2 separate regions of the Homo sapiens genome follow, and region 2 is linked to region 1. The links are contacts of gene promoters, found by promoter capture Hi-C in blood cells and fetal thymus (Javierre and others, 2016). All regions are on one chromosome and are shown on one strand. The core of a region is centred on a gene start or on the middle of the fragment in contact, and the rest is flanking DNA. Distances in the headings are between cores, read along the strand shown. Region 1 holds the start of IQSEC1 (IQ motif and Sec7 domain ArfGEF 1). Region 2 overlaps LINC00620 (long intergenic non-protein coding RNA 620).

Region 1 (5,117 bases), core at 2,270-4,769:
CCATTGGGTTAAGAAATCTTCTCCTGCTTTTGTTGTCATCCTTTATCCCATCCAGTGTGCCACCTTCACGATGGACTGAGCCCTGACCGGGACAGAGTCTCGATTCCATAAAGCTCCCTTGGGTGCACACCAGGGGCCCAGAGAGTGGAAGTGGCGAAAATGGAGGCTAGGGAGTGAGGACAGTGGGGTGGGGGTGGGGGCCCGCCGGCAGGGCTCCACTAGGCTGAGGATAGCCTGGCTGTGCCATGCACAGGGCCGCTGGAGCAAGTCTGTCCCGATTTGACATGTGGCATGCTGGGGAAGGGACACCACTGCCAAATGTACGGCAGGAAACAGCTGTGTGACCCCAGTCAAGTTCCTTCCCCTCTCTGAGCCTCAGTTTCCTCTTCTGTAAAACGGGATCGACAGTATCACATTTTACAGCAGTTGGTGAGACCCCATGAGGCAACTAAGCATGAGAACGCTTTGCAATCAAGTTGGGCAGCTCTGATAGTGGCTACAGTGCAACTGTTGGGAAAGTTAAACATCTAGAGATGCTCAACACCCCATCTCCTTTCCACACTGAAAGGCAGGGTAACAATAAGGTCTGAGCAGCAGGTGCTGGGAGAGCCTGGGCCTAGAAGTGGGCCTGCCGCGGGTTCTGGGTGGGGAGTAATGGTGGGCAAACACAGGCTTATCAAGTGCAGCAGGGTAACCTCAGGAAAGGCCTGCTCTTGGTTACAAGATCCTTGCGTACAAACAGAGCCACCCCCTCCAAGTATCTTTGGTATTTCTGGTGCCAATAGGTTTGGTGGCAGAGCGGGGATGGCCTGGGAGTCACAATGCTCAGACTGGGAGCCTGAGAGCTGGAGAAGAGTGAAAAGACCCACAGAAAAGAAAGACAGTGAGCGCTAAGCCCCCTCGGGCCAGCCCCTCTCTTAGGCAGGAAGGCTAGACGAGCTTATTCCAGGAATCAGCAAATCCACCAGAGCCACGTGTTCAAATGCAGGTGGCTGGGCCCCCAACAGATTGAAGCAGACTCTCCAGGGAAGAGTATTGGAATCCATATAGAACATTGTCCCTGCAAAACTGCAATTGGATAGGCTTGGGCAACGCAGCCACAGTGAATAGCTGCATCACGGGAACATCAACCACACCTGGACATTAAAATCATCCGGAAAATGAAAAAGATCCTGAGGCTTGAGCCCTCCCCCAAACCTAGAAACCAGAATGTCTGGGGGTGGGACCCACACAGTTTTTTTTTGTTTTTTTTTTTTTGTTTGTTTCTTTAACTGCTCCTCAAGTGATTCCAGTATAGCTCCTGGGCTACAACCCCCACCCCAGGCTAGTATACTCCAGGGTTCCAGTAGAACTGTGCTGAGCCTCAGTTTCCCCATCTCTAAAATGGGGTTCTTAGTGCCTGCCCAGACAAGGCCTTTGTGAGGATGACATTTCTGAGCATTGGAGGCAAGCAGGCACTGGGCCAAGTAATCTGAATATGAATTGTCACATTTCATCCTCATGACATCTCCCCTCCCCGATGTAACAGCCCTGAGAGTTTAGAATTTCTCTGGCATCAGGCTCCTGGGCCCAGGCAAAGGTGTGGCAGGGAGGAGACAGCTGTCTCAGGAGGACCTATTCCCAGCCACTGGGGTGGAAGTTCCACGCTGGGAAAGGATTTACTATTTGTTTCAGAAAATGCAGCGAGGGCCTTGCCACAGGGAGTGAGAACTTTGGTGTGCTCTGCTCGCATCGACAAACCAACCTGTGAGCTTCTCCACTAAAAAAGCAAGTGAGCATCACAGCGAACCAGAGGCCACCGTCATCCCTCGAACCAGAGGCCACCGCCATCCCCCAAACCAGAGGCCGCCATCCCCCGAACCAGAGGCCACTGCCATTCCCTGAACCAGAGGCCACTGCCATCCCCCAAACCAGAGGCCACTGCCATCCCCCAAACCAGAGGCCACCGCCATCCCCCGAACCAGAGGCCACCGCCATCCCCCGTGGGTTGCCGCCTGGCACTGCTGACGCAGCAGAGGCAGAGGTGTGTTTACTTTCCCTCAGTGGAGGTGACGGGGAGCTGCCACTCTATCAGGGGTTCCACAGGCCCCTGCCATGGTAAGGGGCCTCCATCGATTAGGGAGGCCTTGGGGTAGCCCCCAGAAGGCTCCCCACATACTGCTCCAGGCCTCCTTTTCCTAGCCTTGCGACTGAGCCCAGCTCAAGAGGACTCAGCCATGCTCTCTAACCTCCTAAGGTCTGAGGTCACTGCACAGCCCCAAATGAGTGGGTCCTGGGCAAATAGTTTAGGCAGGTGGAGACCTGACGCTGGGCCTCAACCCCCGCAGCCGAGGGTCCCAGAGGAGGGCAAAGGTTGCTCCTCCTAGAACAGCACAGTGCAGCGCCCAGAGAGCTGTGAGGGAAGCTGGCATTCGAACCCCACTGCCCCCTGGGAAGCCTGGCTAACCGAAGCGCAGGCTTTGGTTTCCATAAATACCCGGGCCCGTGATGTCACCGCCCCGTGCAGACTTTCACAGCCTCTGCTGCTGGCGTGAGGCCCAGCACACAGCCGCTCTGCTGCCAGCCCACAGAACACCTGGGCACACAGCTGGACACTGATGCCTCCGTGCTAGGGACGGTGGGCTGGACCTTCACCTGCCCTTGGAGGACGCAGCATCCTGGCCACTGCCTCAGCCTGCCTGCGACCTTCTATCAGGCATGGCTGAAGGGCTGGCCATGGGCGTGCTGGGCAGAGATTCTCTTCCTAAACAGGCTATGGGCTAAACCAAAGCCAAAACAGTAGGAGCCGGTCTGGGCACCCTGAATGTGGATCTGGGAGGGGGGATACCTGCTCTCACAGTTGGGAATTTCACAGCCTGCTGAAGACCTGCTGACTAATAGCCTTTTTCTCATCGTCATCACCAACAAACACCTCCGCTGCAGGGGCCGAGCGCCGGCATCCCTGCTGGGTGGCCAGCTCCCTCTGCAAGTCACCTGCACATCCACCTGCCCCTCCCCCAACGATGCCCCTCACTCCAGCTCCCAGCTCAGCCGGGCCCCTCTGGCCTCTGGCTTCAGGCAGAAACCTGCCACATATACTCACAAATAGCGTCTTCTGCAAGCCATCCTGTGTGAATCCGTTCTTCCCTGTTCTGGCTCCCTCTCCAGCGGGGAGGCTCAACGTGTTTCCAAGAGGAGCAGGCGGCTCAGGCAAGAAGTGGAGGGGAATAAAATTAAATCGCGGGGCGAGTCACATTCCCGGGGGTGGCGGGCTCCTCCAGGGAGGCTGGGGCGGGAGCGGGGGGCGGCGCCAGCAGCGGGCTGTGGAGGGCCCTGGCACGTAGCGCGCGCTCACACCGTGCCCAGGAGCGAGCGAGGACGTCGAGTAACCGTGGTCGCCAGGCTGGGCGGGGGCGTCCACCTCGCTGCTACCTGGGCCCACCTTGGGGTTTTTCCCTCCCGTCCATCCGGGGTGCGGGGCGCGGGGATGAGGAGGGGAGGGTCGAGAGAAGGCTGCCCCGGGTTTGCTCTCGCAGCATCCGGAGAAGGGGCGGGCGCGCCGGAGCCTCCCCCACCCCCCGCGCCCAAGGAGCAACGTAGTGCGGCCGCGCCGGACCAATCGCCGAGGCGCTGGTCGCCATGGCAACAGCAGCATCAGGCGCGGCCGCTCGGCTGCGCCCTCGCGGCAAAGTCACACACCCGGCGGGGCGCGGGGCGCCGGCCCCTTCCTGGCCCGCGCTGGAAACCTGGAAGTCTGTTGCTAAAATGCACGCGCCGCGCGGAGCCTACGATGACACTACTTTCCAAGGCGGCTTTTCTGCCTTCGGCACTGAGACACGCGAGCCGCGGAGCTCTCGGGGCTCTGGCCCTGGAGTGAGGCCGGCCGACTCCAAGGCTGTCTCTGCCACTGAAGGGCGATGAGACCTTGGCAAGCCGCGTCTCTCCTGGGAGTCTTGATTATGCTACTGTGAAAGGGATCATAACAGCTATACCACGGGGTTCCAGGAGGGCGCACCACGCCAGTAGCTGCACGGTGGATGGCAGAGCAGTCCTCGTTTGTGCCAGTCCTGTCCCAAAGGGGGCTGCACGTGGCTAGGGAGAATTTCTGGTCTAGCTATGGTGCCTCTTCCTCTCCCGAGGACCTTCCATGTGCCGGGCAAGTATCTGCCCTCATGATGTTTACAGTCTAAGGGGAAGCCAGGAAGTAAGTGTGCAGATATAGGATTGCACGTGGTGATAAGGATCAGGATGAAAAGAGAGCAGGAAGAGGGGAGGCAGGGACCCCAAGAGAGGCGGGAAGGAGGCTTCTGCCATCAGACGGGGTGGTCGGGAAGGCCCTCTGTGAGGCACGTGTGGCTGAGACTCGGATGACGCAAGAAGCAGGGGAGGAGCTGGCGTCAAGGCTCTGAGGCGGAAGGCAGCCTGGTGTATTTGACTGGCCCAGAGGAGGCCAGCGTGGTGCAGTGTGCGACAGGGAGGTGGAGGGGAGAAGCGCACATCCATCCTCGGCTCCCACACCCGCCTTTCCCACACAGATTTCTCTCTTCCTGTCTGATGTTCATCTGATCCTCTCTGCTTCCTCATCTGTAAACCAGGAATCCCAGACCTATCTCAGAGGCATGTAGATAATATTCTTCCGTGCACGGTAATCCTCAAGACAACCCCAATGAGGCCTAATACTATCATCCTACTTCACGGGGGAGCGCATTAAAGCCAGAGGTTCAGCAACTGGCCCAAGCCACATAGCTGGCGGGCAGTCTGGCTCCAGAGTCTTGGTTCTTGACTGCTTGAAAGCTGCCTCACTGGGAGGAATAAATGAGAGAGGGAGTAGTTGAGACTGGGAATCGGCTGGATGTGGATGGCAGCCCACAGGGCCATTTCCCTTCCTCTTTCCATTCTCTCCAGATTCACACTCACCGAATTTAGAAGGAGTGATGCTGCATCCTTGAGTTCCATTCCATCCTTTACAGGGGAGGAAATGAACCTCAGGGGGTGAGCGATTTGCCTAAAGTTGCACAGCAAAGAGTGGCAGAGGTGGGACTAGGACCCCAGTCTTCCAGCTCAGTGTCCTGGTAGGGAGCAGAGGTTGGAGCTGCGGCCTCAGGTGGCCAAGGTGAGGCATCGAACAGAACTGCATG
Region 2 (4,898 bases), core at 254-2,753, 580 kb after region 1:
TCTCATGCGGGGCACGTCAGGGATGGGGTGTAGCACACATAGGTGCTTAGCAAACATGGGGAGGAGTCTCCCCTACTTTATCACACAGCAAGGGAGGCTTTCATGGGGAGACTGGGCCGGCTGTCTCCTTCTTCCCAGGAGAGAGTGATGACAACAGCTGTCGGGCCATCCTCGAAAGGTGCTGGGCAGGTGGAGGGCAGCCCTCGGTGCCCCTGGTTGTCCCCTGAGCCATCCATCCCTCTTCCCTGCTGTGGCTTCCATGCCCTGAGCAGCAAGTGGGAGGTGAACAGTAGTTGGAGAGGGGGCAGGTGGGCACACCAGGTGTGGGTGCTTATGAAGGCACAGATTCAGAGCAGGGACAGGTTCAACATCAGTGAGATGGGGGCTTTGTGACCATCTTCAGTAGCCTCGCACTGTACCTACATGGAACTGAAGCAGAGGAGGATAAGGGACTTGCCCAAAGCCACATGGCCAGACAGAGGTGTGTAGGACGAAGTGGGCCAAGCCCGTATGTCTCTTGCATGAGCAATGTCCATGCCTGATTCATTTCTATAGACCCCTCTGTATCAGCATGGAGCAGCATGAAGATATATTTGTTGAGTGGATGACTGTGTCTGTCAGGCCACATTACCAAAGGTCTATACTTGCAACGAGGGAGGGGACATCCAGTTTTGCTTTATTCTCTGAGCTCTCTGGCTCCTATGCTCAGCTCCAGACACATCAGTGGACCCTGAGATGAACAGCAAGCCCTGGAGACAGCATTCTGTCAGGAGATGGGGTGGCTCAGCTTGGAGGGGGTCCCCACTGCTGTCCCTAATTCTCTGCAGGGTTGTCCTGGGGCAGAAGGGTTAGGAGGAGCTGGTAGATCTGTGGGCAGGACCGGGACCTTGGGAAGACAGGTCCCAAGCTTATGAAGAAGTCTCCCAGTTTTACTCATAGCTGCCGTATGGGGGTGAACAAGTTGGGACAGCTATTTAGTGGAAATGTTCATGCAGTTATTTTTCCAAAAGTCTTTATCGGTCACCTACTGTGTGCCAGACACTGGAGCTGATATTATTTTACTGGAGAATTTGATAGTCAACAAATAAACAAATCGATAGTATGACATTAGATGGAGACAAGTAGGAAGATGAACAACAAAGCAGGACTGGGGTCAGAGGGCACCAGCGAGGGGCCTTGGTTAGACAGCGGGGCTGCCATTGGGCGGGAAATGGGATGATGTGAAAAGCGAAGCGAAGAGTGCGCCAGGCAGAGGGACCTGCAGGAGCAAAGGCTGGGAAGTGGGAATGTGCTGACAAGAGGCGTGGCTGGAGTGTAGTGAGCGAGACTCCCGGGCAGTACTGTGCCCTGCACCCCAGTGCCCTCTTGCCTTCTGCCCGGTGCAGTCACCCCTTCCTTACTCAAGCCCGTTCCACAGCCCCAAAGCTCCACGGCCCCAAAGCTCCACAGCCCCAGAGCTCCACAGCCCCAAAGCTCCACAGCCCCAGAGCTGCGTGGCTCCGGAAGGCTGCGTCAACCCCAGCGACCACACGGAGGCAGCAGAGAACACGGCTGGGACGAGGGCGGAGGGTGAGGACTGAATCTGAGCACCCTGGGGACTCCCAGGTAGCCGGGGCTGGAGACAGGACCCCTCCCTTGCTGCTTCTTTGTACCCAGCATCACATCTCTCTTCGAAAGTTCCTCCCTCCTAAGCAGCATGAACAGTGCCTGCTGAAATTACAGCTCCACTCCACTGCTCTGGAAGGCTCATCTCTTCAAGCCTCCATGCCTGCATCTGTGAAGTGGCAGCAAGCAGAGTTTCATCTCTAGGGGGGTACATCGCAAGTGCTCGGGAACGTTGTCTTCTTGCAACCATGTGTGCCTCACACAACTACCTGTGTGACTTTGGGCAACTCCCTGAGTCTCAGTTTCCACCCTCGTAAAGTGATGGTAGGACTATGGTGTGGGGATCTTCTGTATGCCAGGTACACATGCATAATGCATGCACAGATCCTGGCACTTAGTCAATGCCCAGTGACAATAACTAGTAATCATGACAATTGCATTGATGACCTGGGGGCTTAGAGTCGGGAGAGACCTGCTATTCGGAGGAGAACATTGAAGCTTGGGAAGAAGAGGTGTTTGCCCACCATATACTCACCAGGAATGAGAGGCCCAGGGGTCCCCTCAAGACTTTTGTCCATTTGACAGATGGGGACGCTGAGGTCGGGAGAGGGTTGGCAGCCTGGCCAAGGCCACCCTGTGGCAGGCATAGGACTAGAATCCAAGATGCCTGCTTCCCTTCACGGCTCATCCAACCATGTCTTGGGGCCCTCCCTTCTAGGGCAGGTGGTTTCTCAGGCTGCAGCTCCGGATGTTCCTTTTTCTTCTCCAACCTCCCCCCGCCCACACCCATGCCAGACTGTGTAATCTTGGAAAGCTGCATTCTTGGAAATCTGGTCCCTTCTAGTCTTTGAATTCTTCGAACTTCCTATTGGAGCTGCGGCCCCTAGTTCCCGATGGTGCCTGGGAGGGAGCCTCCTGATTTTGATGTTTTTCAGAGGGAATGAGGTGTTTCCAGTAGGTGGGCAGCCCAGGGTGGGTGGGTGGAGGTGGCAGTGTGGATGGCAGTTGGATGCAGAGAGGAGGAAGGGGACTTGGGGGGGCACCTGTGAGCCCCCTTCCACGGGACTTTTCCCCGGGGTGCACTTTCCCCCTTGGCTTGGAGAGGAAACAGTTTTCCATGTTCCTTTCTCTCTGTGTGCTTGGGAGACACCCACAGCCCTCTTGGAATAATTCCTCTGAAACCTCCAATACCTCCAGCGTCTCCCGGGGTATTTTTCTTGTGGTTAAGGTGGTATTTACAGTGAAAACAGCTATTGAAACGAATCGCAAAAATAATGTCAGTGTTTCCACTTTTGACAAAAATGGGAAGGCAGGTGGTTTCATGTCTGCGATAAGCGCATTGCTCCTGCAATAATTACTATTTGAGATAATTATGAAAAAGAATTTAAATACTTAAGGCATGCACAGGGGCCAGGACAACTTTCTTTTGCCTTATTCATAATTTCTGCTGCAAGTTGGAGTCTTGTCCTGACTGGGACGTGGGGTGGGCGTGGGATGCTGAGGAGCAGTGGGCCAGTGGCAGACCCAGCACTGAGACCTGCTCGAGGTTTGAGGGGCATGGTTGGGCCCAGAAAGAGTGCACATCTTGGAGTGGGACACACCTGGGTGGAAGATGAATGTTTTAGCAAGGCCATCCTAGGCAACTTTCTCTGCACCTCAGTTTCCTTATCTGTAAAATGGGGTGAATATTTGGGCCTTCCTTAGAGCATTGTATGGAAATTGAAGCAGACAGTGTATGAAAAGCACTCAGTGCTCTACATGGTCTACAGCCAGGGCTCAACACGCGCTGGGTCCCTTCCTGTGACATGGGAGGCCTGGGTGAGCTTCCGCTGCTCTGTTATCCACTGAGATCAAAGCCCAGAGTCTGAGAAGGCCCCAATGAGTCTGTATTTTCTTCCCTGCTCTCTCCTGCTTGAACTTCTTCCCAAAAGCAGAATTCAGAGAGTGGCAGGGCAGCAAATGCCCATGAGATTGGAGAGAAGCAGCCTCAGGGAGTCCTGGTCTCTGCCCCTGCGTGAGCCCAGAGGGTAAGCTGGGGCCAAGGACTGGAGGCCAATTCCACCTCTGTGTGTGGCCCGGGTTTCCCAGTTGGAACTCAGCAGGACTGGGCTGGACTGGGAGGGAGGAACCATTCTCCCAGTCACCTGAGATGTCCAAGCAGCACCTGGCTGACCATCTGCCAGTAATGCTGTGAAAGGGGCAGGTGTTGGGCTGTTGGACCCCTGAAGACCTCTAGTCCTGAGACTTAAGGGTGAGTCAGAACCAAGGTATCCTAGGGGCTCACAAGAGGTCAAGGCAGGTGCTGTTAGTTCTGCCCTGGCTCTGCCCTGACTCATCGCATGGGTCAATGCCTGACTCAGGCCTCACTTGCCCCATCTATGCAATAGGAGGGTTGGACTGTAAATGAAAAACCCAAAGAACAATGGCTTCAAGAAAGGAGAAATTTCTATCTCATTCATATTTAAGCCTCAAGGTAGGTGGTACAGATCTGGCATGGGGAACAGCTTCCTTCTAGCTCCTGGCTCCACCTAACCAAGGAGGAAATCTGGTCCTTGTGGTCCAAGATGGCTGCCAGAGTTCCAGCCATCACATCTAAGTTCTAAGTAGGAGGGAAGAAGAAAAAAGGACAGACTGTGGGTATCAGATGTCTTTTAGGAAAGGCTCCTGGAAGCTGATGTGGGACACTTTTGCTTATATCCTACTGATCAGAGCTTCATCACACAGCCACCCTTAGATGCCAGAGAGGCTGAAAGTGAGGGCTTTATTCTGGGAGCCCAGCTGAAATTCAGGGAAAGAAGGGGAGGATTGTCCTGGGGTCTACCAGCTGACTCTGCCACAGGACAATCTCGTCGGGTCCTTCTGCTTTGAGTCTTGGAGATTCTGAGGCTCTGGAAAGGCACAGTTTTCCATGACCCAGGCTTTAAGAACAGAATGTGGGCTAAGCTGAAATAAATGAGTTTTCAAAATTATAAGATTCTGGAATTTCCAAACACAGTGTGTGTGTGTGCATGGCATGTGTGCATGCATGTGTGTATGTGGCGTGTGTGTGTGGCGTGTGTGCCGAGGAGCACAGGTAGCAGATGTGGGGCTGTCGCAGGGCGGGGGCTGCTGGTGCCCCTTGGTGGGCAGCCTCTCTGGGCTCGCAGGCTGCTCCCTCAGCTCCTGGAATCTGCTCCTGCCGGCCTGTTTGTACACGTGCCTGTGTGCACTAGAGCCCCGGGGCCGGGGTGGTGGGAGGGGGGCGCCCAGGAATGCCTGCTGTTTTTAAGGCAGAGTTGTCTGTGCAGACTCCA

The links. Contacts are between HindIII fragments. The CHiCAGO score rates a contact against its expected background, and 5 or more counts as called.
Region 2: a contact is called between a fragment that was not itself captured here and the fragment with the promoter of IQSEC1 in region 1, in 1 of 17 cell types (fetal thymus). The highest score is 6.2, in fetal thymus.

The regions. Positions count from the first base shown.
Region 1 is chr3:13,069,910-13,075,026 of GRCh38, forward strand. IQSEC1 (IQ motif and Sec7 domain ArfGEF 1) reads right to left here and starts at 3,520. Exons shown (of 14, transcript NM_001134382.3): 1 at 3,083-3,520. The coding sequence starts at 3,105. RefSeq lists an enhancer at 1-92 and silencers at 3,436-3,595, 3,716-3,895. The HindIII fragment of the contact is 20,266 bases long and covers 1-5,117 here.
Region 2 is chr3:13,656,487-13,661,384 of GRCh38, forward strand. The region is part of intron 1 of LINC00620 (long intergenic non-protein coding RNA 620); the gene reads left to right. Among named protein-coding and RNA genes, the nearest start is that of LINC00620, 8.2 kb to the left of the region's middle. The HindIII fragment of the contact is 1,196 bases long and covers 906-2,101 here.